5 separate regions of the Homo sapiens genome follow, and regions 1, 3, 4 and 5 are each linked to region 2. Evidence: promoter capture Hi-C in 16 types of primary human blood cells and fetal thymus (Javierre and others, 2016). All regions are on one chromosome and are shown on one strand. The core of a region is centred on a gene start or on the middle of the fragment in contact, and the rest is flanking DNA. Distances in the headings are between cores, read along the strand shown. Region 1 overlaps ZMIZ1 (zinc finger MIZ-type containing 1). Region 2 holds the start of POLR3A (RNA polymerase III subunit A). Region 3 overlaps ZMIZ1 (zinc finger MIZ-type containing 1). Region 4 overlaps ZMIZ1 (zinc finger MIZ-type containing 1). Region 5 overlaps ZMIZ1-AS1 (ZMIZ1 antisense RNA 1).

Region 1 (6,036 bases), core at 1,455-3,954, 1.1 Mb after region 2:
AGTGGGGAGAAGAGCTCTGAGCGGGGCACCCAGCGTGTGCCAAGGCCGGAGCCAGGGGCTCTGGGAGGCCGGGCTGACTGGAGCCTAGTGGTGGGCAGGCAGGTTTGGCTGCTGCTGTGGTCTGGCTTTCAGGGCTGCGGGGCTGCTCGGCCGGTGCTGGGGCTTCGAATGTGACGTTCAGGAGCTGCGACCTTTATTTGGCAGTGGCAGGACGGTATCCAGTGTCTCGAGTAGCTCCACGTTGGTGGGCCAGTTCCATCTTCCAGGAGATGGCAGCCAGGACCTAGAGGTCCATGACGTGGGTGAGGGGCTGCCCGCAGGGTCAGAGCTTGGAGCTCACTGCCCCCTTTCTTGTCTCCCATAGGACTCACGGCAGCTGTGTTCTGATTTCGTACTACTGCTGGGGCTGCCACCTCCTCCTCCAGACGCTCTCAGCAGACTTGAGTCCTGGTCCTTCTGCAGAGGCCTGAGCAGGTAAGTGGGATGGGCTGGCCCTCTGGTGCTGTGCACCTGCTGACGTGGGGCAGACAGGGAGTGCGGGCTGCCCAGAGTGCATGGTGCTGTTTCAGGGGCCCAGAGGGCTGGGGAGGGGAAGGGGCTTCTTTCTCAGTCTTTATTTGTTCCTTGGCCTTTTCCTCTCAAAGAAAGCCACACAGTGGAGGGTGGTGAATGTCCTGACTTGGGACCTGGACATGGGATTTTATTCTGCTGCCAACTCCCAGTATCGCCTTGGGTAGCCCTTTCCTTCTAGAGGGCCTCAGCTTTCTACTCTAGTCCATGGAAATAACAGTAATGATATCCTCTAACCCGACAAGCACTTAACTGTATTCTGGGTACTGTGCAAAGTACTATAGAGTTATTACTTCTTTCAGCATCACAGCAGCCTTATGAGAGCATTGCTGTAATCACCAGCATTGTACATGTGAGAAAACTGAACGTCACTCACTCAGGAAGTAACTTGCCCCAGGCGGCACACCTGGCTGAGCCTAGGGTTCAAGTCCAGGTCTGTGTGGCTCCAGTGCGCCAGCCACTGCCCGCTGGCCTACTCTGCCTCTGGCCTTGCTCCTAGCTTCTTTTTGGGGGTGGGGATCAGGGCAATTATGGGTGTCTTCAGAAGTGCCAGATCCTGTCCCAACTTAAGAAAAAGGGAGAGGGGCTTTTACCAGGTGACAGGCTCCTGGTGGGTCTGGGGTCATGACCCATTTGTGATGTGATGTGGCAGGGACCAGGCCTGGCCTCTGGGTGCCTCTGAGGTGGCAGCCAGGGCCCCCTCTAGAGGAGGGGTGTGTAGGCTGGATAAGGCTTTCTTTCCCTCCGCCCCTCAAGTTCGTTTTCCTAAGCTTGTATTAAACACTTACTGTGTGCCAACTCCTGGATTAGGTACCAACTGCGGTGCAAGGGAAAGGGGCCTGTCCCACTCTCTGCTCCGTGGAGAAACAGAAAGATCCCAGTGATGTGGCAAGCCCCATAACAGTGGCGTGGAGAGGGTTCAGAGGCTGGGGGGAGAATTCTGGGGAGGTGACCACAAGTGAGTTACAGTGTGGGGAGACAGAAGCATAGATGGAGCAGAACCTGGCAGGATGTGCATGCACACACAGACATGAGTGGTGGTGAGTGCATAGATAATACAGATGTGCAAATGTGCGCTTCCTCACAAACGTGTACACAGACGTCGCTTCTGCATGCCACATGAATGCACACAGATAACACTTGCGTGCACTTGCATGCTCACATACACATGCACAAACTCGTGTTGGAACTACACACATACACGGGCACAAACTCTCACAAGCACACAGCATTCTGACACACGGGGCTGCATATCCATGCACACACAACGCAGGGTGCATTCCAACAAGAAGAGGCAGTTCAGAGGTCGATGGCTCTGCATCGGCAAAAGCTTCCAGCAGCTCCTGGGAGGCTCTGGACAGCCTGGGCCGAGGCTGAGCTGGAGCTCTGTTTGTGTGTATGTTGGGGAGGGTGTTGGGGCTTGAGGGCCAGCCATGTGACTGACCATGGACAAGCCCTTGCCCGCTCTAGGACTCATTCCCCATCTGGAAACAGGAATCGTCCCTGTCCGCCTCCTATACGGTGGCCGCAAGGATGAGAGGCTGCTGTGTAGATTGCCGAGAGCAATTTTGGGCACTCTGCAGGGCTTCAACAAATTGAAGCTAGTAGTCTCATGAGAATAAAACAGGTTACAGGTAAAGTGGGGATGTGGGGGCTGTTCCTCTCCAGGCTTCTCATCCCCTGGGGCCTGGGTACTCTCTGAATCATGGGCATGACAGTCCACCCTGCCTGCCTCCACCAAGGTGGTGGGGTCTGTGTCATCCCTGCTCCCGCTCTCCCACCTGCACTTCCCTGTTGACTCGTGAGGAGTTGGGGGCCTGCAGTGCCCAGCTTTGGTACAACAACCACATTTGACTCCCTGCCAGGAGACTGGCACATTGCCTCCATGAGTGCTCTAAATCCCCTTGAGAAGCCTGAGAAGGCCTTACCAAGCAATTTCCAGATGAGGAAACTGAGGCACAATAAATGCAGGTGAGGTTCTCAGGGACACCTGCTCATAAGTGTTGGAGCTGGGCTTCGGATCCACGTCATCAGATGTGAACATTTATGCTCTTTTCTCCCATGATCTCCTCTCAGGGATAGGTCATTTATTACCCACTTTGCAGATAAGGAAACTGAGGCTCAGAGAGGGCAGGCCACTCAGCCAGGAAGTAGCACAGCCAGAATTGGGTGCTTATTAACCACACTGCACCCACCTCAATTCAACACTTCCTTTTCCTTTCCCTCCCTCCTTCCCAGAGAGCCCCTCCAGGTTAGAGGGGGTTCCCGAGGAGGCTTCTGGGATTATCTGGGCTTTAGTTCTGACCTAGTATTCCCAGGCATACCTGCCATTTTCTTGCAAATAGAAAGATAGGCTATTCTCTGGGGTCTGCTTTCTAGCATGACCTAGTAACTTCCTCTCCACAACTCCTTTGTAAAGTATCCTTAGGATTGTCCTTTGGAAACTTGGCCAGCAGAAAGCTCTGGGGTACCCAAGAGGCTTGGAGGAGTCCTAGGCCTTTGGAGAGGTAGCCACTGCTTGCATATCCACTGGGAGGCTCTGTGACCTGCTAAAGGATCAGGGTGTGGGACCACAGCACAGGGAGCCAAGGTTCTGCTTGGCATGGGTGGTAGGTACCACTATGGAAGGAAATTGGGAAGGATCCCCGGGAGGTGATATTTACGCTGGGCCTTGGAAAGAGGAGAAATTTGCTAGGTTGATGTCAAAGGCCAAGGAAGACCCAGCAGAAGGCTCAGCTCCACCAAAGTCCCAGAAAAGTGAGAGTTTATTCATGGCCCTTCGCACCTGCATCTGTACCCAACAATACCCATCAGAGTCTCCTAGAATTAGGGCCAGCTAAATAATTTAGCTGTGGTCCAATGCTAAATGAAAATGCAGAGCCCTTTGTTCATGAATTACAAAGGATTTCAAGATGATGACAGCAGAGTAGGGTCCTTCTAAGCTTGTGGCCCTGTGTGACGGCCAGTGAAGCCAACCCTGCTTGAGTAAGTGTAGCAATTGTGGGATTTAGCGCCAAGAACTGAGTTCACGTGCAGGCGCCACCAGTTACTTACCAGGCCCACGACCTTGGGCAAGTCCTCCTCATCTCCATAAGCCTCATCTGCCAATGAGCGATGGTACCCTCCTGCCTGCAGAGGAGGGTCAGTGGTGCCAGCATCTAGCTTATCCCAAGCAGTCCAGGACAGAAGCTTTGGCCGGGGTGGAGTGGCAACTCTTTCCGTCACGTAGTGATGTTCAAGGCTCTCCTGACCCACCCCATTTACCTTCCAGCGCTGCCCCTGTCTACCTTGGTGGCCTGGTTTTTTGTGCTTTTCCAAATCCACCTGGCTGGGCAGTGGAGGGTATGGGGAGTCTACTCTGTTTTATTTGCAGAGCCTCCTGTCTGGACTGCTCCTTGCCCACACTCCCATCTCTCCTTGGCAGACTCACTCCTGCAGGTTAGATGTCATGCAGATTTCTTTGACCCCCCAGCTCCTCCCTTCCAACCTTTACTCTGTGATACCTTCAGTAGCTGCAATGACCTCTTGCACTATAGAGTTCTCTACAGTGTGCGAAGTCCTTTCACACCCATCACACCCTGGAGAGCTCTTGAAAGGCCCTATTCCCATTTGCTAGATAGGAAAACAGAGGCTCAGAGGTACAACCATCCTAAGTTCCTGGGCTGAGGTCAGACCCACATCGGGTAGGGGTGTAGACAGTGGCAGCAGAGAATGGTACCTAGGCTCCACCCTCGGCCGCCTCATCTTGCAGCATTTGGGAAAACTGGCTTTTCCCTTCTGGTAGAAAGCTCCAGCCCCTGGCCCAGGAGAGGTATGTGGGTTGCTGAAGAGGGCCTGGTAGAGCGCAGAGGTCCAGCCAGCTAGAGCAGACTAGCGCCCAGCCCTGCTTTTCCCCACAAGTGATGTGGCCCAGTTCACGTGGCTCGGCGGACTAGAGCCAGGTATACATGGCTCTGAAGTCTGGGGCAGAGGTGAGAAGGCCCTAGCTGGCCTGGGCTGCAACCGCAGGCAAAGGCTGGCCACAGATGAGAGGGGTATCGTGTCAGGGGCATGACAAACTGTTCCATATGGCTGGCACTTCACAAAAGACACTCAAAACACTCTTGGTGGATGAGTGTGGAGGATGCTGGCAGATTGCGGCTGTGGACCGGGCTGAGGCATGGAGGTTTTCCAGCTCTGTTACCCCTTTCTTTGTGGCTTCTGATGAGCGACTTCATCTCTCTGTGCCCCATTTCCTCATCTGTAAAATGGGGAGAATATCCCTCTAGTTGGGAGGGATTCAACGAAGTAAGCCATGGGCACTCTCACAGCCATGCCTGGAGCATGGTTAGTGCTTTCTGGCACTTTCTAGCATGAAGAGTGGAGGTGGCAGTAGCGGGAGTGAGTAGGGGGTGGACTCCAGGGCTGTGGCCACACAGGAGGGTTTCCTCCACTGAGCAGCATGGTTGTGCGGTCTTTTAAGAGAAGGTGGAGAGGGAGATCAGGGATTGGGGTTGGGCTGGATTTGGATTTCATATGAGGCAATCCCAAACAGCTGTTGCTCAGAGCTCTGTGGGCAGCCACCTGGGGTGAGGGCTGCACTCTCCTCGCCAGCCCCTCCAGCCCCTGGTGTGTGGCTTTAGGCTGCCGGCATGCACACCCTAAGTTGTCAGTCAGCAGACTTCCAGGGTTACATAGGCGGTTTGGGGCTGGCCATGAAGACCTTGAATGCCAAGCCCAGCTCACAGCAGGCCTGGCCAGGGCCCAGCCCGTGGCCACACGGAGCTGGGATTCCAGGGTCCGCATATGGCATGCCTGTCAATCTTCAGCGCCAGCTGAGAATGCACACCTCTCCTCCCACTGCGTGAAATCTGTGGCCTGCAGCCCAGGCCCTCCACCCCAGCCTCTGCAGCCTGCTATGACTCCACAACCCCCACCCAAGCCTGGATCTGGGAATCGTTTGCAGCTCACTGCTTATTCCTGCCCAAGGTAGGATGCCCCTCTAGGTCAGGAGGGTGGGACTGCTGTCCTGGTGGGCCCTCTGAGCAGGACTTGTGTTCAAGCCTCAGTCCCATTAAGAACTGCTGTGTGACCTTGGACAAGTTGCTGCCCCTCTCTGAGCAGCTGTTTATTGGTCTGTAAAATCAGAGGATTGGGGTAGGTCAGGGATTACAAACTGCAGTCTTCAAGGGTGTCAACAACCCATTGAAGTTGGGACTATCCTGTTGTACAAATGAGAAAACTCAAAGCACAGAGAGGTTAAGAAACTTAGCCAAGGTCACACAGGTTATAGTGGAGCTAGGACTCAGCCCAGTTTTATCTGACACCATAATATGTGTTTTCCCTACCACAACAAACTGCCTGTCACAGATACTTGCTTGTTTGCTGGGTGATCCATTTTGTCCATCAGCCAGCTTGGTGTTGAACACTTCCTTGTGCTCCTGCACCGTGCTAGGCCCTGGTATCCAATAGTGAATCTTCAGTTGA
Region 2 (5,347 bases), core at 835-3,334:
GGGTGGATCACGAGGCAAGGAGATTGAGACCATCCTGGCTAACATGGTGAAACCCTGTCTCTACTAAAAATACAAAAAATTTGCTAGGCGTGATGGCCCACACAATGGAAAGCTGCTAGAGGATTTTTTTTTTTCCCTGAGACAGAGTCTTGCTCTGTCACCCAGGCTGGAGTGCAGTGGTGCGATCTCAGCTCACTGCAACCTCTGCCTCCTGGGTTCAAGCGATTCTCCTGCCTCAGACTCCCAAGTAGCTGGGGTTACAGGCATACAGGCATGCGCCACCGCACCCAGCTAATTTTTGTATTTTTAGTAGAGATGAGGTTTTACCATATTGGCCAGTCTGGTCTTGAACTTCTGACCTCATGATCTGCCTGCCATGGCCTCCCAAAGTGCTGGGATTACAGACGTGAGCCACCACTCCTGGCCTCTGCTAGAGGATTTTAATTGACAATACCCTTAATTTGCACTTTGACAGAAGCACTTTCTCTGTTTTGTGAGAATGTATTATATCTGACTGGGCGCAGGTGTACAGGTGGGTGTGAAGGGCCAGTGTCGATGTAGAGCTACCACATGGGAGAATGCTGCATTCACCTAGGTAAGACACCTGTTCTAGTGAATGGCAACCATCCACACAGCTGCCCAAGCAAGGCATTCTGTATATCCGTCTCAAGGTCTCTCGACCTCTAATTCTTTCCACCATGAATCAAGAGATTTTCCAGAAGGAGAACTCTTATCAAGATACTCTCCTGTTGAAAATCCTTCAAAGGTTCCTCACTGCCTACAAGATGACTTCTTAACACAGCTTCAAGTCTTCTGCTTCCTTCTGATCACCTGTGTTCTCTCCCTCAGGTCTGCTCCTTGAAAAAAGCAGTTTGGTCTGCTTTCTTTTGCCTGGACCCATTATGTGCTCTCAAAACCCCCTGGACCTACCCTTGTCATTGCACTTGTCGTACCCAGTGTTGACTTGTGTACCTTCTCCAACTAGATTAGGCAGTAAAAGTTTTATTCAGACCGTATCTTTAACGTCCAACACTGGGAATAACGCGCAGTATCCTCCTCAGTGTCTGCTGTAAGAATGATGAATTCACTTTTTTTTTTGAGACACCGTCTCACTCTGTCACTCAGGGTGGAATGCAGGAGGTTGCCCACTGCAACCTCTGCCTCCCAGGCTCAAGTGATTTTTCGGCCTCAGCCTCCCGAGTAGCTGGGACCACAAGGGCGCGCCACCACGCCTGCTAATTTTTGTATTTTTGATAGAGACGGGGTTTCGCCACGTTGCCCAGGCTAGTCTCAAACTCCTGAGCTCAGGAGATTCACCCGCTTCGGCCTCCTAAAGTGCTGGGATTACAGGAGTAAGCCACCGCGCCCGGCTGGATTCACTTTCTTACCGAGAACTCTAAGAAGGAGCCACCGCCTAATAACGTATTTCTGAAGGCAAAAGTCCGGATAGCAGCTTTATTTCTGACACTGCCATCCGTCGGCCTGTGGTACAGCTTTCTAGTGGGCAACCCCATCCTTTTGGTAAGCAACTACTGCCTCCGTGTCAGACGCTCTGCGGCTGACAGAATTAGAGACAGTCCCCGCCCCAGATTGCTCCCCTCGCTGCAGCAGGGGATAGTTCGCTGAAGAACAGGGATCATTGTATGACTTCAGGAGAATGCGAGCTTTGGCCCAGGGTGCACAAATCATTAAGGCTCAGGCCACTCCGACTTCTCCGCCCAAGTCCAGGGACCTCTCGAGGTGCTGAAATCCCCTCAGCCTGACCAATGCTCTTTGACCAACGCTGGTAGTTCTGGGCGCTGGTCACACCTATGGACTACTGGCCCTCCCCTTCCCATTGCACCCCATCTCTGACCCTGCAAGACCCGGGACCGCTGACCTCGGACCCCTTGCCCTATTTCTCAGCCCTTTGGCCACTCTTACTCCGTCTTACATTTTCTTGGCCACATCCGTCTCCCGGAACTGCTCCTTCACCATGATGACCGCTGCCGGGACGCCTCCTTGGCACTCGGGAGGCCAGATTAGAGAAACGATGCCCCCAGCACCTCCTGGGGCTGCTTCTGGACTCGCCGCTAACACATCTGCGGCATCCTCTCGGCCACCGTAGAGTGTCCCACGTGTCCGCTTCCTCTTCCGCTACTCGCCCGCGCGTCTGTCTGTCAAGAGAGACTTCCGGCATGCCTTTTTTTTTTTTTTTTTTCCCTTTCCCCGCACCGTCACCTGGTGGCGCTTACTGGAAGCCGCACCGAGGCGTGTGCTGTATTTTAAAAATCCCATTTCTGGTCAATTTCTCCACGTAATCAGACACCCGCAGAGAAACTGCATATAACTCTTTGCCTCAAGGCTTTTAGACAAGCAGAGGGCCAAAACTTGCATAAAATGGAAAATCATCATCATTAACATCAGTACCATCTAAATTAAGAGCTTCTAATTGTTTTAAGGGAAGGTGGAAGCTAAAATGAACCGGCCCATCCAACAGAGGGCACTATCTGTGGAGGACCAACAAAGGAAAACAGAGCGGAAAATATGGGCGCACATGTGCCTCCAGTTCATGAAGTTATTTGGAGGGAGGGGGGAAGAATTAAACTTACATTATTGATTACAAAAACAGTTGAAAATCTGTTAGAGTGAAAACAGCCATGGTAATCTACAGAAGAAAAGGGAGAATGGAAAGTAAAGATCATTCATGTCTTGAAATAAGTTGTCTACAGTCTGTGAGAACTTGTGGGAGGTGATCCTAGTGTGATATATTAGTGCATGAGCCTAGCAAGGAAATCACATCACCACAGGGCTTAGCGCTTAGAATTAGAACTAAGTCCTCATTATTTGTGAGAAACTCAAAACAGAACTTAACAAAAGTGTTTAACAACTTTCAATTTTTAAGAAGGGACGCTATCTCATTTTCAGACGCCATGGATCCTCACTAGCAAAACACAATGTCACAGACAAACGAGGCATATCAGGTTTTTCTAACTCATTTCGGTACTCCATCACTTAATCATGAAATAATGTTGACTATATATATATATATATATATATATATATAGTCAACATTATGGGTTTTTTTTGTTTTTTTTTTTTTTTTTTTTTTGAGACGGAGTCTCGCTCTGTCGCCTAGACTGGAGTGCAGTGGCGAAATCTCGGCTCACCGCAACCTCCGCCTCCCGGGTTCAAGCGATTCTCCTGGCTCAGCCTCCCGAGTAGCTGGGACTACAAGCGCCCGCCACCACGCCCAGCTAATTTTTGTATTTTTAGTAGAGACGGGGTTTTACTATGTTGGCCAGGCTGGTCTCGAATCCCTGACCTCGTGATCCGCCCGCCTCAGTCTCCCAAAGTGATAGGATTACAGGTGTGAGCCACCACACCCGGCTCTGATGTTTACAATATTATACCAACAAGGGTTGGATCGTGTGTGACTTATCTAGAGGTTAAGAGCAAAAGTTATGAAATCACAGTGCCATCATGGGAGTCTAGCTTTCACCATTTAAAGTTGTGTAGGCAGCCAGGCGTGGTGGCTCACGCCTGTAATCCTAGCACTTTGGGAGGCCAAGGTGGGCGGATCACCTGAGGTCAGGAGTTCGGGACCAGCCTGGTCAACATGGTGAAACCCCATCTCTACTAAAAATACAAAAATTAGCTGGGGTTGGTGGTGTGCGCCTGTAATCCCAGGTACTCGGGAGGCTGAGGCAGGAGAATCGCTTGAAGCTGGGAGGTGGAGGTTGCAGTGAGCCGAGACCATGCCATTGCACTGCAGCCTGGGCGACAAGAGTGAAACTCCATCTCAAAAATAAAAAAAAATAAAAAATAAAGTTGTGCAGGCCGGGCGCGGTGGCTCACGCCTGTAATCTCAGCACTTTGGGAGGCCGAGGTGGGCAGATCATGAGGTCAGGAATTTGAGACCAGCCTGACCAATATGGTGAAACTCCGTCTCTACTAAAAAATACAAAAATTAGCCTGGTGTGGTGGCGCATTCCTGTAATTCCAGCAACTCAGGAGGCTAAGGCAGGAGAATCGCTTAAATCCGGGAGGCGGAGGTTGCAGTGAGCCAAGATTGTGCCACTGCACTCCAGCCTGGGCAACAGAGCAAGACTCTGCCTCAAAAAAAAAAAAAAAAAAAATATATATATATATATATATAGATATAGATATAGATATATGTGTATATATACACATACGTGTATATATACACGTATATAAAGTGTGAACTTGGGAAAGTTATTTAATCTTATTGTGTGTTAGTTTCCCCATTTATAACATGGGTGAGTAATATGTATCCTATTTCTTAGAGTCAATGGGAAGGTTAAATAGCAAAATGAAGGTAAAAGTAATTAGAATGTAACAGGCACATTACAATCACTCAATAAATATTCTTCTGCCTCAGCCTCCCGAGTAGCTGGGACTACAGGTGCGCACCACCATGCCTGGCTAATTTTTGTATTTTTAGTAGAGACGGGGTTTCACCATATTGGCTAGGCTGGTCTTGAACTCCTGACCTCGTGATCTGCCTGCCTCGGCCTTCCAGAGTGCTGGGATTACAGGCATGAGCCACCGTGCCCAGCCGGCTGACTATTTTCTTAAGAATAAGGATAGTTGGTCACCTCGGGAGGCTGAGGCAGAAGAATCGCTTGAACTTGGGAGGCGGATGTTGCAGTGACCCGAGATCCCGCCACTGCACTCCAGCCTGGGTGACAGAGCGAGATGCGGTCTCAAAAAAAAAAAAAAAAACAAAAAACGAAAAAAAAGAAAAATAGTCGGCCGGGGACGGTGGCTCACGCCTATAATCCCAGCACTTTGAGAGGCCGAGGCGGGGGCGGATCACTTGCGGTCAGGAGTTGGAGACCAGCCTGGCCAACATGGTGAAACCCCGTCTCTCCTAAAAATACAAAAATTAGCTGGGCATTGTGGCGCAGGCCTGTAATTTTAGTTACTCTGGAAGCTGAGCCAGGAGAATCGCTTGAATCCGGGAGGTCGAGGTTGCAGTGAGCCGCGATGAAGCCATTGCTCTCCAACCTGGGTGACAAGAGCTAGACTCTGTCTCAGGAAAAAAAAAAAAAGAAAATAGGAAAGCTGCCCGCAAAGCCTGCACCTTGGACACCTCGTCTGCACTAACATTTGGGAAATTCTTCTTATTATTTCTCCGGAACATATATATTTACATTCTTTACATGTCTGTTTCACGTTAAAGAAAATATTTCTGGAGCAATCAATTTTTTTTTCCTTTTTTTTTTTTTTTTTCTGAGACGGAGTTTCGCTCTTATTGCCCAGGCGGAGTGCAATGGTGCGATCTCGGCCCACTGCAACCTCCGCCTCCCGGGTTCAAGCGATTCTCCTGTCTCAGCCTCCCAGA
Region 3 (5,543 bases), core at 992-3,491, 1.0 Mb after region 2:
CCCCACTCTGGGCTTGAGATGCTGGGGGGCCCTCCAGACCATAGACTCGTTCTTTCCTGAATGATCCTGGGTTCAAGACCAGTGCCTAGGCAGGCCCCTAGGTAGGGGGACACATTCAAGTGGCTGCTTCTAGCCCTTATTGGGAATGACCTGTTGTGGGGGGTGCAGAAGGGGGAAGGGTCTGCCTGGGGGTGCTCACTGTCATCTGCCTTTGTGTGCCAGGTTTGCCTCTGGGCACTTTCCTTGGAGCGGGGTATGAGAAGGAAGGGGGTGCGTGATGAGGGCTGGGGTTGGGTCGGGCCCGGCATGGGTGCCACAGGTGTTGACTGTGAGTGTCCACCCTGTGGATAAAGACTGTGTCCTGGGAGAGACCAGAACTGTGGAAGACAGTTCCTGTTCCTCAGGAGCCCACAGTCCAGTGCCGGCAGGAAGATCAGTCCAAATAAATAATTAACCGCTACCAGCTGGCTGCCTGCCACGGGCGCGTGATGACAGTAATAACCACAGCCCCTCTCCTTTGTATGGTACTTGGTGGATTTAGAAGCTTTTTCCATCTTTGTTTATCCCCAATAACAACAGTGTAAGCTAGTTACTATTTGGAATTATCCCCATTTAACAGAGCAGAAAACCAAGGTTCAGAGCGGTCAAACAACTGGTGGCAAAGTTAGGACTGAACCTCAGGCCTTACCGATACCAACCCCTGCGCTGCCTCCTTTCCAGTCCACTGAGTGAGCGCTCCAGCCAGGCTCGGACACGGTGCAGAGTCAGGATAGGCTCCAAAACTGGGTGCTGGGGGAATGAGGTGAAGGAGGAGCCATTCTCAGGAAGGGTCACAGATGGGCCTCACCTGTCTTCCCCCTCCCATATGGCAGCACATGGTCCATGCCCCCAGTAGCTGTGTCCCTTTCTTTTGGCACAGTGTCTTACAGCCAGAGCTTGCTTCGAGACACAAATCCTGCCTTGACTGCCCAGGGCACACAGGTCTATACATGGGGCTTCATGCCCTTCTCCGGCTCTGGAGTAGGAGGCAGAGGTGTTTCCAGCCCCCCGGGTCCCCATGAAGCCCAGTGCTCTTCCTTGGGTTCCTATGGTTTCTGTAGTCCCTCTTCGGGCTGAGTCAGTCCCCAGGCTATGTGGGGCACCCACTCCGTGTGAGACCTTAGGTTCTTTCTGCCCCTTGCAGCCTCCACCCTTGGGCCTGGTTTTCTGTAGCTCAGCTGAGTGCCACCCTAGGACAAGGCTGTAGCTAGTGGGGTTCAGGCCAGGGAGCAGCCGGGCAGGCTGAGCTGGCACCTCCCCAGGAAGCCTGGCCCAGCCTGGCACACCTGTGCAGGTAATGACTGTGGCTTGGGAGGGCCCCAGGCCCTGCCTGTCAGGCCCAGCTGCCGGAGTTACTGCAGGATTGTGCTGGGGGAGGCTGGGGTGTCTGAGCTAATTAGATTTCTTAGATTTCAATGCTCCCCTAATCCTGTTAGTCTGGCTGTAATTGTAACCACTTGAAGGTTTCGGCTGTGGCAGGCTGTTGAGGACAGACGGTGGGGGGACTGTGCTCTGCCCCAGCCCCAGCTCCACCCCTAGACAGCCAGCTGAGGGCCTGGGGACTGCCTTCTTAGGTCTTGAGGATGGGGGCTTGAGTGATGGTGGGTGTCGTGTTTTTCTGTAGAAACTGAGTATCGCAGACTGTCAGAGTGGACATAGCCCTTTGAGATCACCCAGCTCAAACCCTTCACTGTTCAGATGGGGAAACTTAGGCCCACAGAGGGACAGAGACTGGCTCAGGACCTTGATGGCTGGTAGCAGTGGAGCATCAAAGACTAGTGGTCTGACTTTGGGATATTTGTCCCTAGGCACTTCAGGGAAAGTCTGGAATTTCCAGGGACTAGTGAACCCTCCAGAGACTTCTGCCCCTAGAGATAGGGCTTGGGGGGCTTCATTTGTCCCCAAGCTTGTTCCCCAGTTGGCAGTTACCTGTCTTATATTCCCCCAGCCCTGTGTGTGTGCACACCTGCACACAGCTGCACACACATGCACACACATGCACACATGCACACCTGCACACATGCAAACGCATGCACACCTGCACACACATGCACACACTGGCCCTGCTGGCCAGGGCTTCTGCCAGGACTCCGGCTGCCTGGCCCAGGGTCCTGAGACCTGAGAGCTCTCTCCGTCCTCCCCCACCACTCTTAGCCAGATACTTGCCCTCTTGGAGCCTCTGATTCAATGCAGATCAGGAAATGGCCAAGCTGTTCTGATGGGGGTGTGTGTTAAAATACATACACTGTACTTTCCCCAGCTCTTTCTTCGAAAGTTCTGTTTTGGTGTCTGGCTTAAATGGAGATCTGTCCTCTCTCCCCGCACCCCATTCTCACTTCCCAATCCGCAGGGGATGACTGGCAGGGAGGATGGGGACGGTGTGCCTTGGATCTTCCCACTTAGGTCCTGTGCTGCCCTCCTCTTAGCTCGGGAGCTTCGGGGAAAGATCTGGAAAGCCCCTTCCACTGTGAACCTCTCTGACTCTGGGGTTTGAATTCCTAAGCTTGTAGCATAAAATTAGTGGGAACTGGTTGCGTTACCTGGTCTGGCCTTTCCTTTCCTAGCCCAGGAAACTGAACCATGGAAAGAAACACTTGGTCTCATCCAAGGTCAGCAGCGAATGGGTGACCGATCTGGGCCTGGAACCCCATCTCCGCCAGTCCATTAGCTCATGAAACATGTATTGAGTGTGTGCTGTTGGCCTGGCACAGCCCCCCTTAGCCACTCTTGAGCTCATTAATAAATGCTCTTCGGGTCTGATGAGAGGCCCAGCTGAACCTTGGGGGTGGGGTTCACTTCTGAGTGCTCAGGGTGAGGACGAAGGATGGGGAGTTTTCAGTGGCATTCCCAGACTCCCAGATCCTCTGCAGCCAGGGGAGTGTGGAACACTCCTGGTCTGGCATTAGAGCCCCTGCCCAGCAGCATGTGTCTTTACAGGGTGGTTGCATTGTGAATTTGAGAGAAGTAAAACAGGGCCGGGCACAGTGGCTCATGCCTGTAATCTCAGCACTCTGGGAGGCCTAGGCAGGTGGATCATGAGGTCAGGAGTTTGACACCAGCCTGGTCAAAGTAGTGAAACCGCATCTCTGCTAAAGATACAAAAATTATCTCGGCATGATGGTGGTGCACGCTTGTAGTCCCAGCTACTCGAGAGGTTGAGGCATGAGAAACACTTGAACCCATGAGGTGGAGGTTGCAGTGAGCCAAGATTGCACCACTGCACTCCAGCCTGGATGACAGAGCAGGACTCTGCCTAAAAAAATAAATAAATAAAACAAAACAGAAACCATCTAGGGAGGGTACAAGGTTTCTCATCTGCCGGGACCTGTTTAAGCCAAGAGGATGGTAGCTTCCCATACCTCCCCTCTCCCCTCCAGCCAGCCCTCCAGGAGCTGACCTTTGTCCTTTGCAGAGCAAATGACCCACTGACTTGGTCCTGCCTTCACTTCCTCTGTGTATGGGGAAGCAGGGAGGTGGCCTTCTCACCCCACCCTAGGAGTCACCTGCTGAGAGTCACCTTTGTCAGCCTAGGTGAGAGCACACTAGGAAGAGCCAGCTAGGCTCAGGACAAAGGAGGAGATGCCAGGTGCCTGGACCTTGCCCTGTCCACAGGGGTCCCACCCAAACTCCTACCCCTACTCCCCGGTGGACCTTGACCGCCGCTGGGAAGCACAGTGCACAGCTCTAACCACTCAGCGACCTAGCCAAGGATCAGCAGGGCACAGAGACCTCTGGGAAGAGTCCTGAAACCCTTTCCTGGTGTGTGCAAGTGGGACGCGACCTTATAGGGTCTCTGTCCAACCTTCTTATTTTCCACATGGGGAAACCCAAAGCCCAGAGAGGTGGTGGGATTGGCTGGGGGTCATACAGTGGGGTGTCTCACTAAGAGTGGGGGGTTCTGTGGTCTGGGTGGGGAGGGGTGGGGTTTTCCATCGAAAAATGGTGTTCCATCGAAAAATGCTTTGGTGTTCCTGCTGTTGTTTACATACTTAAAACAACTTGCCAAAGGTCTGCCATAAATATAATAGCCAGCATTTATTGGGCAACTAATGTGTTTCATGCTTTTCCCAGACTGCCTGGGTTCAGCCCTCAGCTCTGCTCTTTATGAGCTCTGTAACTTTGGGCAAGTAATGTTTAACTTCTCCGACTTTGGTCTCCACATCTGTAAAACAGGCTTACTAGTGGTGTAGTAATAACTAACATACTACCTCCTCCATAGGTTGAGAAGATGGAGTGCGCAAACTTCCTGGCACATAGTAAGTGCTCAAGAAAAGGTAGCCCTAGTCATGGTCACCACCAGCATTCCCATTGCCTTACCTCTGATTTACAGATGAGACGGTGAAGTCGATTGCCCAGGTCATGTGGTGCCTGGAGCCCAACCAAAGCGGCCTGCTGGCACCTAGGCTTCCTGATCTCCAACTCCCTGCCGTTTTCCACACTCTTGTGTAGCACAAAGGGCTGGCCCATCATCTCTGAGAGGCCCCCAGTCAGTCATAACCCAAGTACATTGTAATTCAACCTACTAGGGCAGCTTGTTCCCCTTGGAAAGGCGTTCGAGAGGGAGGTGTTGCATCTGGGCTTCTGTCTGAGAAGCTTATTTTTTTCATGTGTAAACTGAGGCTCATAATAACAATACCTACTTTTTGGACTCTTCTCGTGTGAAGGGAAGGAGGCCACAGAGGGACTGGGCTTGTCAGTTGTACCCTATTATGTGGAATCACTATGAATGGTAACTGACTGGAACTTCTGGCCAGTCACTCACCCCTCCGAGCCTCAGTTTCCTCATCTGAAGACCATGAGCCGAAACAACATAATCTCTTCCCGAAGTGGCTTCTCAGGGCCACCAGTCCCCAAAAGCAAAAGAGAGGGCAGCAGAGCACCCCCACCCCCAAGAAATTGTCAAACCTATTTGCCTGGAGGAGATGGCTCAGAGTAAATAGTTTGCTTCACTCAGCCTTTCCCCAGACTACAGACACCACCCACCCCCGACTTTTTTTTTTTTTTTTTTTTTTGGAGTGCAGTGGTGCAATCTCAGCTCACTGCAACCTCTGCCTCCTGGGCTCAGGTGATTTTCCCACCACATCCTCCTGAGTAGCTGGGACTACAGGCATGCGCACCCATGCCCAGCTAATTTTTGTATTTTTTTTTTTTTGCATATGGTGTTTCACCATATTGCCCAGGCTGATCTTGAACTGCTGGGCTCAAGCAATCCACCTGCATCTGCCTCCCATAGTGCTGGGATTACAAGCATGAGCACCATGCCTAGCCCCACCCTTTTTTTAATGCAAAATAACTATGGAAAAGACCAATAGACCATTTTGGGAAACGCCCGCGTAAACAGTCCCTTTCAGCTCAGGCATTGCAGCTCCATCCAGCGGATGGTTTACCTACTGAAGAACCACCTTTCCAGGGGAGCCTTTCACAGAGGAGAGGAGGGGACAGTGTCTGCAGAGGCAGAAGTCTTCCCCTCAGCCTGCTTTCTTGGCCTTTCCACCTCTTTTTAA
Region 4 (5,546 bases), core at 2,934-5,433, 1.1 Mb after region 2:
CCACAGTAAAGCCCTTCCCGAGGCTTCATTCTGCAGCCCTGAGACAGTGGGGTGGGGGATTGGTGAAGAACACAGAGTCATGGAGTTATTGTGAGAAGTCAGTGAGATAACCTATGTGAAGGGCTTTAGCGGAGGGAGGGGCTTGGCCAGAATTAGCCTTTTTACTTTCTTAAGAGACAAGGTCTTGCTTTGTCACCCAGGGTGGAGTGCAGTGGCTCACTGCAGCCTTGACCTCCCAGGCTCAACTGACCCTCCCACCTCAGCCTTCTGAATACCTGGGACTATAGATGCATTCCAGCATGCCTGGCTAATTTTTAAAATTTTTATTAGAGACAAGGTCTCACTATGTTGCCCAGGCTGGTCTCAAACTCCTGGGCTCAAGCAGTCCTCCCATCCCAGCCTCTCAATGTGCTGGGATTATAGATGTGAGCTGCCACACCCAGCCCAGGAATTAGCTTTTATTTGGGAACTCTTGGCCATGCCTTTCATTTTTTGCGGCCTTCCTGAGATGCATCTGCAGTGAGTTTCTGGAGTCCTGGGGGTCAGGCCTGAGGCCAGGGAAGGGTGGGAGCTGGCTGCAGACCCCCATAGAGCTGGCATTTCCCGCTCCCCACTCTCCACCCCTCAGCCTTCCTCCCCTAGAGCAGGGTCTCCGCTCTGCCTGTCAAGAGATGTGGCGTCCTTCTGTCTTAGTGGGCCCATCTCAGGCTGTGAGGACAAGCCTGCCACCCTGGGGTAGTAGCGGAGACACAGATCCCCAATGCTGGAAAAGTGCTCAAGACTCTGGCCCGCAGACCTTTCCCAAGCAACAGACCAAAGGCAGAGCCGCTCCTGCTGAGTTGGACTAGACACCCCCTTCTTCTACCCTCCCTCACCCCCTAGATGCCCCAAAGGCTATAATATACCATGGACTCCAGCTACAAAACCACTGGTCCAGGTGCAGCATGTTGGCAGCTCTGCCATTTATCACAGGGACTTCTCTCTGAGCCTTGGCTCCCCTCCTGTGTGGCCCCAACGTTGGGCTTTGGGATTCTCCCTGAGTTTGGGGATTGTCCCTGTAGTCAGGGAACGGCTGGGTGGCCACAGTTTCCCAGCAGACATCTGCCCTCTGGGTGGGGAGGGCGGAAGGAAAACACCAGACACAGGCAGGGCTGGGGCTGGGCGGGTGCTCTGCCCCCTCCCTCTGCTCCCGCTTCCGCCCCGACTCTGCTGGGCTTCCCACCCAGCAAACCCCTGGCACATCCAGGAAGCAGAAAACAAGTGCTTGGGGAGGGCATTCTTCTGGGTGAAGAAGGGCAGCCGGTCACTTGTCCTTCAGAGACACAGAAGCCTGGGCCACATGACTACCTGACCCACAAGTGGCTGTGCGTGTGTGTAGTGTACGTGTGTGTGTGTGTGTGTGTGTGTGTGTATATCCCTGTCCCTGGCCAAGGAAACCTTAGCCATCACGTGGCTGGTTTCTCTCGCTATTTGTCCAAGTAAGCAGTTCAGGCCAGCTGCAGCCAGGAGGCCGTGACACAGAGCCAGGGAGAAGGGCCACATTGGTGTGGGTGGTGGCAGCGAGGATCGCCATGGGCATCAGGGAGCCCCGAGCTGGGTCCTAGAGCTCTTGGGCCTCAGAATCTGGTATGGGGAGGCCTGGGCTGGGGAATGGCCTTGTTCTGATCCTCTGCCCTCCCTGGACGACTGACCTCCCTGCCCCAACCCATCTGTCAAGAAAAGGCACAGAGCTTGATAACAGAGAACTCTCTCAGCCCTAAATAGAGAGGGTGGGCACCTTCTGACCAGGGGGAGCCGAGAAAGACAGAGTCCTCACCAGAGAAAGGGACACACATGGGCACAACCACCATGTGTATGGCCCCTGGAGTGTGCTTTAGAGCCCTGGCCTCCGTGGCAGGAGTGTGGAAGCCAGGCCTCCCGTGTGCATCCATCAGGCCACTGAATTATTAGCACCTACTGTGTGCCAGGACCTGGGCTAGGCAGGGATAGGGGTTGTCAGAACACAGACCTTCTGGAAACTTCGTCAAACCCTCGCCTCTGTGACATATTTTCTTCCCATTGGATGGGCAGCATCACCTTTCATTGCAAAACCCCTGTGATCTTGTCATGAGCTGGCCATTTCCCACCCCACTGCCATTCCAGGAGGATGCAACCCCTACATTGTTGCAGGGCTCAGGAAGAGCAGTGAGAGGCACCGCCGAGCCTCTCATGGACCAAGCAGGTGTTTCTAGCCAGGGAGAGTGTCCCCTTCCTCTAGGGAGGTGTGAGCCAGACCCTGGGCTTCCAAAGCAAATGTGTGCATGTGGGCAGAACACAGAGGCCCTGGGCTCGGACACCTGGGGGCCTTCTCCTAGCCCACATGGGGAGCAGAGCACCAGGGGAAGTGGCAGCTGCAGAGTGGGGCCTCCCCAGGCCTTCATCGAGGTTTGTCAGCCTGCATACTGTGTCTTGCATAGATGACACCATCTCTGGGGGCCTGGAGGAGGAGGGCTGTGGTGGCTTTTTGGGGCCATGCTTCTGAGAGCCCACCTGCATTCATGTGTCTGTTTGTCCACCTCCTCCCTGCTTCTTCCCTCTTTCCTTCCTTTGACAAACATTTCCTGGCAGCCAAGTCTGTATGGGGCCCACGCTCCACAAAAGATACATCCCTCACCCTGCATGATCACGGCCGAACTGGAATCCAGCAACATTCCAGGGTGGGCCCAGGGCCAGGCCCAGGTAAGGCCTAGGAGAGAGCTGGCTCTTGGCTAGGAGGCAGGGCATGGCTGACCCCACAGGCTCCCCTGGGTTCTGAGGAAGCTTAGGCGTACTTCCCCAGGATAGGCCAACGGCAGAGCCCACCAGGTGCCTGAGACAAGGGGGTGTAGAGAGCCAGCATCAAGGCCACACAGAGCATCATCAGACCTTGTCTCTGTTGTGATGAGGTCTAGGGTATTCAATCTGGAAGAGTCCCACAGGCTCGTGTGCTCAGGCTGTTCTAGGAAACGCCTGTCCGGAAAAGGGGTGGAGCTGGGTGGCCAGGGCTGAGGGTGACGCAGATCCGCCATCATGCCACCTACAACTGAATGTGGATTCTGGGCCGGGGTTTTTAATAAAGCTGCTGGGTCAGCATCCCAGAATGCTGCCTAGGCCTGTATGTCCCCAGCCTCAGCTTGCATATCTCTGGGGTCACGAGGCTTACTACTGCCGTCTTGTAGTTCCTCCTGGGACATGGGGTCCTGGCCTCCCACCAGGCTGACGCTGACTTCTGTCTTCCACCCTGCTTGTCTTAGGGCCACAGACTTTAGGCCCTTGGCAGTTTCCAATTGAGTCCCTCCCGGGCTTTCCTCCCTGCAGGCAGAGCATCAAGCTGGGTCTGTACGTGGCCCCGCCAGGGCCTGTTTGATTGGGGTAATCTGGACAAGTCATCAGTGGCCTGCGCTGGCAGCCAGGGTGTGGCTAAAGTCAGTTCCTGCCTAAGCTGGGCTGACCCACCTTCTCACCACTCAGGAGCTCCCGGAGCCAGGAGGGACTGCTGTGAGTTTGCCTTCATGAGGAGGCCCTTGGGCTGCCTTTGGTACAGGCAGGAGACCTGGATCCCTGCTCTGTCCCTATCTCTGTCCCTGTCCCTGGGGTAATCTCGAGCAAGGCTGGGCCCCAGGCAGGCCCACACCCCCTCCCATCTGTGTTCATCCCCAGCACTAAGCCAAGAGGCTTTTGTCCCTGGTGGGCTGTCGGCCAGCTGGAAGAGTCCTCCTTGCTCTCTGGCCTATTTGCTTTCTGAGTCCCTCTGCCCTGGGAGAGCATGAATGGGCAGGAGAGGGGACTGGAGAGGGCTGAGGGCCTCTGTTCAGATCTCTGCCCTCACTGGGTCGGGCTGCCAACCTCTGCACTCCCACCATACCCCCAACCTGTGGACAGGTGAGCCTCCAGTTCCTGAGGCCACAGGGAATGGGCTGGATTCACCTGGAGGCCATGGGTAGCCTTGCAGCCCCTGGGCCAAGCTCCCCTCCCACCCAGACTCCTCCAGACACTTCAGGGGTTCAGGCATGCCAAGTCAGGGTGGGGTGAAGGGGTCTTTCTCTAGGCGCTGTGCCTGTGGTTGACATCACGTTGTCCTCATGTGGGGCTGCGTGGCCCCGTGGGGTGGCACGCCTTCTGCAAGAGCTCGCCCTCCAGGAAGTTCTGCATTCGAAGCCTGAACTTGGCCTTGGTTCACTCTTCCTCTCATCCTGGTCTCTTGGGCATGACTTCTCCCAGGGGACACTGCTGTCTGCTGACTTGGAAAGGCAGGGATTCAATCAGGGGCCCCCGCTCAGCTGTGTCTGAAGTGTGCCCTCCTGGGAAGAAAACCCAGCAGCACTTTTGTCGAGGCCTCACACTGGAAAATGAACGGTGGGAGGCCTAGAGGTAAGAGGCCAAAGGCCACTAAGCAGGCCAGCGTGGCCTGCCCACTCCAGCCCCCAGAAAGCATTGGTGCTTCTGAGGAGGCTTGCTCGGCCCTCCCTCTCCCCTGGGCTGGGTGGGGCCAGTGGGACAGGAAGCCAGGGCGGGGCTGGAGGATGGGGCTCAGGGTGGCCTGGGCCTGAGCCAGGGATGAGGCGAAACCCAACCCTGGCCTGGCCCCGGGCCGCAGCCGTGCAGGTCACTAGGCCTCGGCGAGTGGCCACCCGCCCACCCAACAGGAAGCCCTGCCCAGACACCACCTTTGCCCCACCCCGTATTCTCTACGGCTGGCACTTCTCCTATTTCCCATGAGAGCTGCTGCCAGGAATCCTGCCCTCTTGAGAAAGGAAGCCCGACCTCGGGCCGCCCTGCCTCTGGCCTGCGCTGACCCCCTCCCTGGGCCTCCCCGTGGTGGCAGCTCTGGGCCCACGCCCGTCCTGCACCCCCCACACATGCTAATGACTTATCTCCTCTCAGACAAAGCCTGTGACCCTTGGGGACCTAGCAGGAGAAACCTCACAGTGGGACTAGGCCTGGGAGCCAGGAGGCTGGGGCTCTTGGTCTGGGATCCTCCACCAACCTGCTGGTGCACCTGGGCAAGTCACTCAGCCACTCTGGGTCTCATCTGTAGAAAAACAGGGAGAGGCAGACGCTCTGCCCAGCAATGAGCATCCCATGGGATAAAGGGTTTGGGGTGGGTTGAATGTGTGCCCTGTGAAGACAGCCAGGCTTGGGGGGTGATAACACAAAACCTCCCCATCCACCCCTGTCTGCCTGGAAAGGAGCCCCTTCTCTCATCTCCCAGAAGCCGGGCGACGGAGCATGCCTCCGTCTCTCAGCTCTGCTCAGGGAGCTGGGCCAGAAGCAGGGATGGGGCTGTGCTGAGGGGCAGGCTGTCCCACCACCCTCCCAACCCCATCCTCTTCCTCCCTCCTGGTGGGTGCTCTCTGACCCATGACCCACCTCCCCAAGTAAGCCCAAGCCCACCTCAGTATCAGCAGGGGTAGCAGCTTAGGGAATCAACTGTGTCTTAAAGGGGGCCAAGCAGAGGGGTCAGGGCACCACGGGGAAAGACCAGAGTCGTTGTGACATTGGATGGGTTAAGACAGATCCGGGGGCCA
Region 5 (5,521 bases), core at 2,159-4,658, 1.0 Mb after region 2:
ATAGCTGAAGGTTTACATCACAGACAGCTGGAATGAATGACAATAAATTAATTTAAAGTGCTACCAAAGTGTTCCCCAAAGTATATGTGCTTATGAGCTCTGGGCTAATAATTTATAAATGCATGCCTTTTATAATCCTGGTCTTAAGTCTTGAAAGCAGCTAGTTAAAAAGCAGTCACATGACATAAATTATTTTTATTAATATCACAAGTGCATGATTAGGGTGGTGGGAATGGCGGTCACCACCAGTCCATGGTTTCAGCAGCCAAGCATCTCGTCCTTTCTCCCCATCCTCTGGCTCTGAGAGGAGGGGACCTCACAATGCCAGGGTCCTAGGTCCCTGGCACAGCTACCAGGGCCTGAGCTGGTGCCCCCACATCCTAACCCTGCTTTCCTGGGTGTGGAATGAAATTCTCATCCAATATGGGTTTCCTCTTCTAATGGCTTCCTGCTGCTCAGATGCAGAGAGCAAATATCTTTGCATGGGCATGCAATCAACACAGACATTCACACAAACTCAGAGAGAGAGAGAGAGACTTGCTGAGCCTCAGTTGCTTTACCTATAAAATGGGCATCACAACATTGACCTCATAGGCCCCTTGGGAGAACTGATTAAGGCTATATATTAGCACTCAATGAAATATATTGTTATTAGAGGCTGTCTCTACCTACCTACTGTACAAGGAGATGGAAATGTACAAAGAGGTTTATACAACCAGGAACTTTGTGGTTGGTTGGCCTGTTCAGATCTTTTGATAAAATGCAACGTGACTCTATCCTTCTGGAAGCCCATTCCAAACCCTTTTCTCTAACGCAAATCCCAGCAGTGCCCTGGACCCCTAGCTCTGCCATTTTCTCAGTGGATCCGTCAGTGATTCTCTTGTAGGTGCACCCTGTCCTGTGCTGCATTAAAGATTACCCAAATGCTTTGCAGCGCTTCTCACCAAAAGATGAGGTCTATTTCTCCACTTCTTGATTTCGGGCTGGCCTGTGACTCACTTTGACCTGTAGAATATGGTGGCAGTGATGCTGTCACTTCCAAGACTGGATCTTAAGATATGTGTAGCTTGTTTTTGTTTTGTTTAGAGATAGAGTCTCACTCTGTCACCCAGGTTGGAGTGCAGTAGTACAGTCATAGCTACTGCAGCCTCAAACTCCTGGGCTCAAGTAAACCTCCCACCTCAGCCTCCCTGGTAGGTAGGACTATAGGCGTGACTACCATGCCTGGCTAATTTTTTTAAAAATTTTTTATTTATTTGTAGAGACGGGGGTCTCACTATGTTACCCAGGCTGGTCTTGAACCCCCAGGCTCAAGCAATCTTCCCACCTTGGCCTCCCCAAACGCTGGGATTATAAGCATGAGCCACCCGTCCCAGTCTATAGCTTGTTTTGGAGCATTTCAAACACTCTTCTTAGAATCCAGCTGTTTGGCTGTGAGGAGCCTAATCAAGGTAGAAAGTCCTCATGGAGGCAGCCCCAGCCAAGCCCCCAACCAGCGTCCAGCATCAGCCCCCACCATCTGAATGGGCTGTGTTTATGCTCTGGTCAAACCCTTAGATGACAGCAGCCCCAGCATACGCCATGCGAACCAGAAGAAGTGGCCAGCTGAACCCAGTCAACCAAGAACTGTGAGGGATAACACAGTAGTCCCCACTGACCCACAGCTTGTGTTCAACCGTGGTCTCATAATATTAAATGGGAAAATTCCAGAAATAAACAATTCATAAGTTTTTAATTGCACACCATTCTGCATATCGAGATGAAATATTGCACTGTCCCACTTCATCCTGCCCAGAAGATGAATCATCCCTTTATCCAGCACAAGATGTCTACACTCCCCACTCCTTCATCTCTTAGTAGCCTTCTTGGTTATCAGATCAGCTATCAGGGTATTACAGTGTTCCTGTTCAAGGTCGATAGAAACCTAATGCTACATCAAAATGCCTACATTGAGCTTGTCCAATCCGTGCCCCACAGGCTGCATGTGCCCCAGGATGCTTCTAATGCGGCTCAACACAACTTCATAAACTTTCTTAAAACATTATGAGACTTTGGCCTGGCATGGTGGCTCACACCTGTAATCCCAGCACTTTGGGAGGCTGAGGCGGGCAGATCACCTGAGGTCGGGAGCTTGAGACCAGCCTGACCAATATGGAGAAACCCCGTCTCTACTAAAAATACATAATTAGCTGGGCATGGCAGCGCATGCCTGTAATGCCAGCTACTCAGGAGGCTGAGGCAGGAGAATCGCTTGAACCCGGGAGGCGGAGATTGCGGTGAGCTGAGATCGCGCCATTGCACTCCAGCCTAGGCAACGAGAGTGAAACTCCATCTCAAAAAAAAAAAAAAAGAAAAAAGAAAGAAAAATGAGACTTTTTTTGCAATTTTTTGTCATCTCCTCAGCTATTGTTAGTATATTCTGTGTGTGGCCCAGGACAATTCTTCCTCCAGTGTGGCCCAGGAAAGCCAAAAGATTGGGCACACCGGTTTACATCATTCACCTCCCCTCATCTCATCACATAGGCATCTTATCATCTCACATCATCACAAGAAGGGTGACACAGGACAATAAGGCATTTTGAGAGAGAGATCACATTCACATAACTTTAATAAACATATATGATTATTATTGATCTATTTTATTATTACTTACTATCATTAATCTCTTATTGTGCCTACTATTTTTTGTGCTATTTTGCTTTGTTTTTTTGTTTTTTTTTTTTTTGAACAGAGTCTAGCTCTGTCACCCAAGCTGGAGTTCAGTGGTGAGATCTTGGCTCGCTGCAACCTCCACCTCCTAGGTTCAAGTGATTCTCATGCCTCAGCCTCCCAGGTAGCTGGGACTACAGGCACCCACCACCACACCCGGCTAATTTTTGCATTTTTAGTAGAGACGGGGTTTCACCATGTTACCCAGGCTGGTCTCAAACTCCTGGCTTCAAGTGATCTCCCCGTCTTGGCCTCCCAAAGTGCTAGGATTATAAGCGTGAGCCACTGCGACTGGGCAACTATGTCTAAGTTTTAAATTAAACTTTATCATAGGTGTGTATGTTTAAGAAAAAATATAGTGTACATAGGGTTTGGTACAATCCATGGTTTCAGGCATCCACTGGGGTTTTGGAACGTATGCCCCAGGGATGAGGTGGGACTACTGTAAATGTTTGTTGTCCAAAGGCCCTAGGTTTGAGGCCAGAATGCCCCTCTGTACCAGCTCTTCCCGTCAGCTCTTAGACATGCCCAAGTCTCTCGTCTGAAGTTCTGCTTGATCCCCGTGTTCCTCAGCAGCTCCAGCCTTCACTCACTCCCCCACTGGCTCCCCTTCCGCCACTCCTCCAAGAGGGTACTCTCCAAGATCACCAGGGCCTGGCTGTACCTGAGTCCTGTGGTTGATCTGATTTGCCTGCTTCCTGGGGTCCGCTGCCTCTCCTTTCAATACTTTCCCCAGTGCTCCTCTCGGTCCTCACCTCTACTTCTCCGTGCCATTTCTCTCAGGCCACTATGTACCCCTGTTCCTGCTCTTTCAATCCTGGGGATCCCCGGGTCTCTGGCCCGAGCCCTGTGACCTGCACCATTTCCACTCATTTCCAGGCAAGCTCATCCACTCCCTGTTAGACACCAACATCTCCCAAGTCCCTACGTTCAGCCCACATTTCCTCTCCAGGCCAAAATGTTCAACTGCCTGCTAGACTTTGCATTTGATCATCTTGCAATCACTTCAGCCTCCACAGTTCCCACATGTACTCATCATCACCACACTCCCTGCCCCTCCTCCCTCACTCCTCTTCCGAAGATTGGCACTGCCATCTATTCTGTTGCCTGAGTCCCAAATTGGGATTCAGTCTCTTTTCTCTCTGCACCCCACCTAAAATCAGTCACCAGATCCCGGCAAGTCAGCCTCTAAATTGGTCTGAAATCTATTGTTCCTACTGCTGTCACCTGTTCCCAGGCTACTGCCATCCCACGCTGGACCCCCACCCACACCTGTGCACTCAGTCCTTTCTCCACTTGGAGGCAGAGACCCTAATTACATCACTTTCCAACTCAGAGTCCTTCCACAGATCCTGCTGCCTCTAGAACAAAAGCCACACTTGTCGATGTGACTTAGGTGCTCTCCACATCTGTCCTAGGACCACCTCTCAGCCCCAAATCTGACCACTCCCTAGAGTCACACCAGACTCATTCCTCTAACCTGCTGCACACTCACACATGGGTCTTCACACCTCTGCCTTTTTTGCCAGGACACACTGCCCTCCTCCATGGTTCAGCAGACACCACCTCCTGCAGGCCTTGACTTCCCCAGGGAAGCCTAATCTGGCCCCCTACACCATCCTAGAGTGGCTGCCCTGCTGTCTACCCAACCACACCCTTGCCCTGCCCTGCTTTCCCTTCCTTCAGGACACGTCTCCCTTGATGTCAACCGCTTGGTGAGTTATTTGTCTTCTCAGCTGAATGGGTAGCTCTGGGTAATCAGGAACCATTTATCATGGCCTAGCATGGCATCTGGCATGGGTAGGCACTCAATAAATATTTGTGAATTAATGAATGATAAACGTCATCACCTTGCCTCCTCCAATCCCCATGAAAGACTGATTTGAACAGATTTCTACAGGAGTCTCTGCCTTCACCTCCCATTCCCCTGCTCAGCCACTCAACACCCATTTGGGGAGCACCCATTCTGTGCCCAGCCCTGGGGTGGGCATACAAATCACAAATGAATGGATTAACAATACTATTCAGAAATAAAAAAGACCCAACTACCAACACACACAGCCACAGGGGCAAATCTCAAAAGCAATAGGCCAAGTAAAAGATGCCAGACACAAAGACTGCAGGCTGGATGAGTCCACTTATGCGACATTCTAGAAAAGGCAAAACTATAGGAACAGAAAACAGATCAGGGCTCCCAAGGTGCATGTCAAAGAGGAAGAGTCAGGTGGCAGCTGAGTTGCATTGTTCTTGTCTTTAGAGACAGGCAAGGTCTCACTCTGTTGCCCAGGCTGGAGTGCAGTGGTGCAAGCACAGCTCACTGTAGCCTCAACCTCCCAGGCTCAAGTGATCCTCACACCTCAACCTCTCAAGTATTTGGGACTACAGCCATGCATCACTACGCTTGGCTAATTTTTAAACTTTTTGTAGAGACAGGGTCTTGCCATGTTGCCTAGGCTAGTCTCAAACTCCTGAGCTCAAGGGATCTTCCCCCTCACTTAGGCCTCCCAAAGTGCTGGGATTACAGGCGTGAGCCACCAAACCTGGCCTCGAGTTGCCTTCTTAGAACTAACCACATCATTCACCATCACTTCTGACACATTCTGCTCATGGGAAGCAAGTCACTACAGCCAACCTATATCAAAGAGGAGAGGAATTGAAGTCCACCTTTTGATGGGATGAGTGTCAAAGAATGCGGAGAACTGGTTTTTGTTTTTTTTGTTGTGTGTGTTTGTTTGTTTGTTTTTGAGATGGAGTCTTGCGCTTTGGCCCAGGCTGCAGTGCAGTGGCATGATCTCAGTCCACTGCAACCTCC

The links. The method cuts DNA at HindIII sites, captures the fragments that hold promoters and counts their contacts. A CHiCAGO score of 5 or more calls a contact.
Region 1: a contact is called between a fragment that was not itself captured here and the fragment with the promoter of POLR3A in region 2, in 4 of 17 cell types (fetal thymus, naive CD4 T cells, total CD4 T cells and 1 more). The highest score is 7.2, in fetal thymus.
Region 3: a contact is called between a fragment that was not itself captured here and the fragment with the promoter of POLR3A in region 2, in 6 of 17 cell types (naive CD4 T cells, total CD4 T cells, activated CD4 T cells and 3 more). The highest score is 12.0, in naive CD4 T cells.
Region 4: a fragment that was not itself captured here is called in contact with the fragment with the promoter of POLR3A in region 2 in 9 of 17 cell types (total CD4 T cells, total CD8 T cells, naive CD8 T cells and 6 more); the score reaches 10.3 in total CD4 T cells.
Region 5: a contact is called between a fragment that was not itself captured here and the fragment with the promoter of POLR3A in region 2, in 2 of 17 cell types (naive CD8 T cells and activated CD4 T cells). The highest score is 8.6, in naive CD8 T cells.

Annotation. Positions count from the first base shown.
Region 1 is chr10:79,118,551-79,124,586 of GRCh38, forward strand. It overlaps ZMIZ1 (zinc finger MIZ-type containing 1), which reads left to right. Exons shown (of 25, transcript NM_020338.4): 2 at 365-474. Among named protein-coding and RNA genes, the nearest start is that of ZMIZ1, 53 kb to the left of the region's middle. The HindIII fragment of the contact is 1,612 bases long and covers 1,899-3,510 here.
Region 2 is chr10:78,027,431-78,032,777 of GRCh38, forward strand. It overlaps POLR3A (RNA polymerase III subunit A), which reads right to left and starts at 2,085. Exons shown (of 31, transcript NM_007055.4): 1 at 1,934-2,085. The coding sequence starts at 1,977. RefSeq lists an enhancer at 2,005-2,254. The HindIII fragment of the contact is 13,008 bases long and covers 1-5,347 here.
Region 3 is chr10:79,073,542-79,079,084 of GRCh38, forward strand. The region is part of intron 1 of ZMIZ1 (zinc finger MIZ-type containing 1); the gene reads left to right. Among named protein-coding and RNA genes, the nearest start is that of ZMIZ1, 7.3 kb to the left of the region's middle. The HindIII fragment of the contact is 597 bases long and covers 1,944-2,540 here.
Region 4 is chr10:79,145,563-79,151,108 of GRCh38, forward strand. The region is part of intron 3 of ZMIZ1 (zinc finger MIZ-type containing 1); the gene reads left to right. Among named protein-coding and RNA genes, the nearest start is that of ZMIZ1, 79 kb to the left of the region's middle. RefSeq lists enhancers at 1-294, 1,261-1,350 and silencers at 4,441-4,500, 4,561-4,640. The HindIII fragment of the contact is 2,773 bases long and covers 2,798-5,546 here.
Region 5 is chr10:79,030,911-79,036,431 of GRCh38, forward strand. The region is part of intron 5 of ZMIZ1-AS1 (ZMIZ1 antisense RNA 1); the gene reads right to left. Among named protein-coding and RNA genes, the nearest start is that of ZMIZ1-AS1, 34 kb to the right of the region's middle. The HindIII fragment of the contact is 7,741 bases long and covers 1-5,521 here.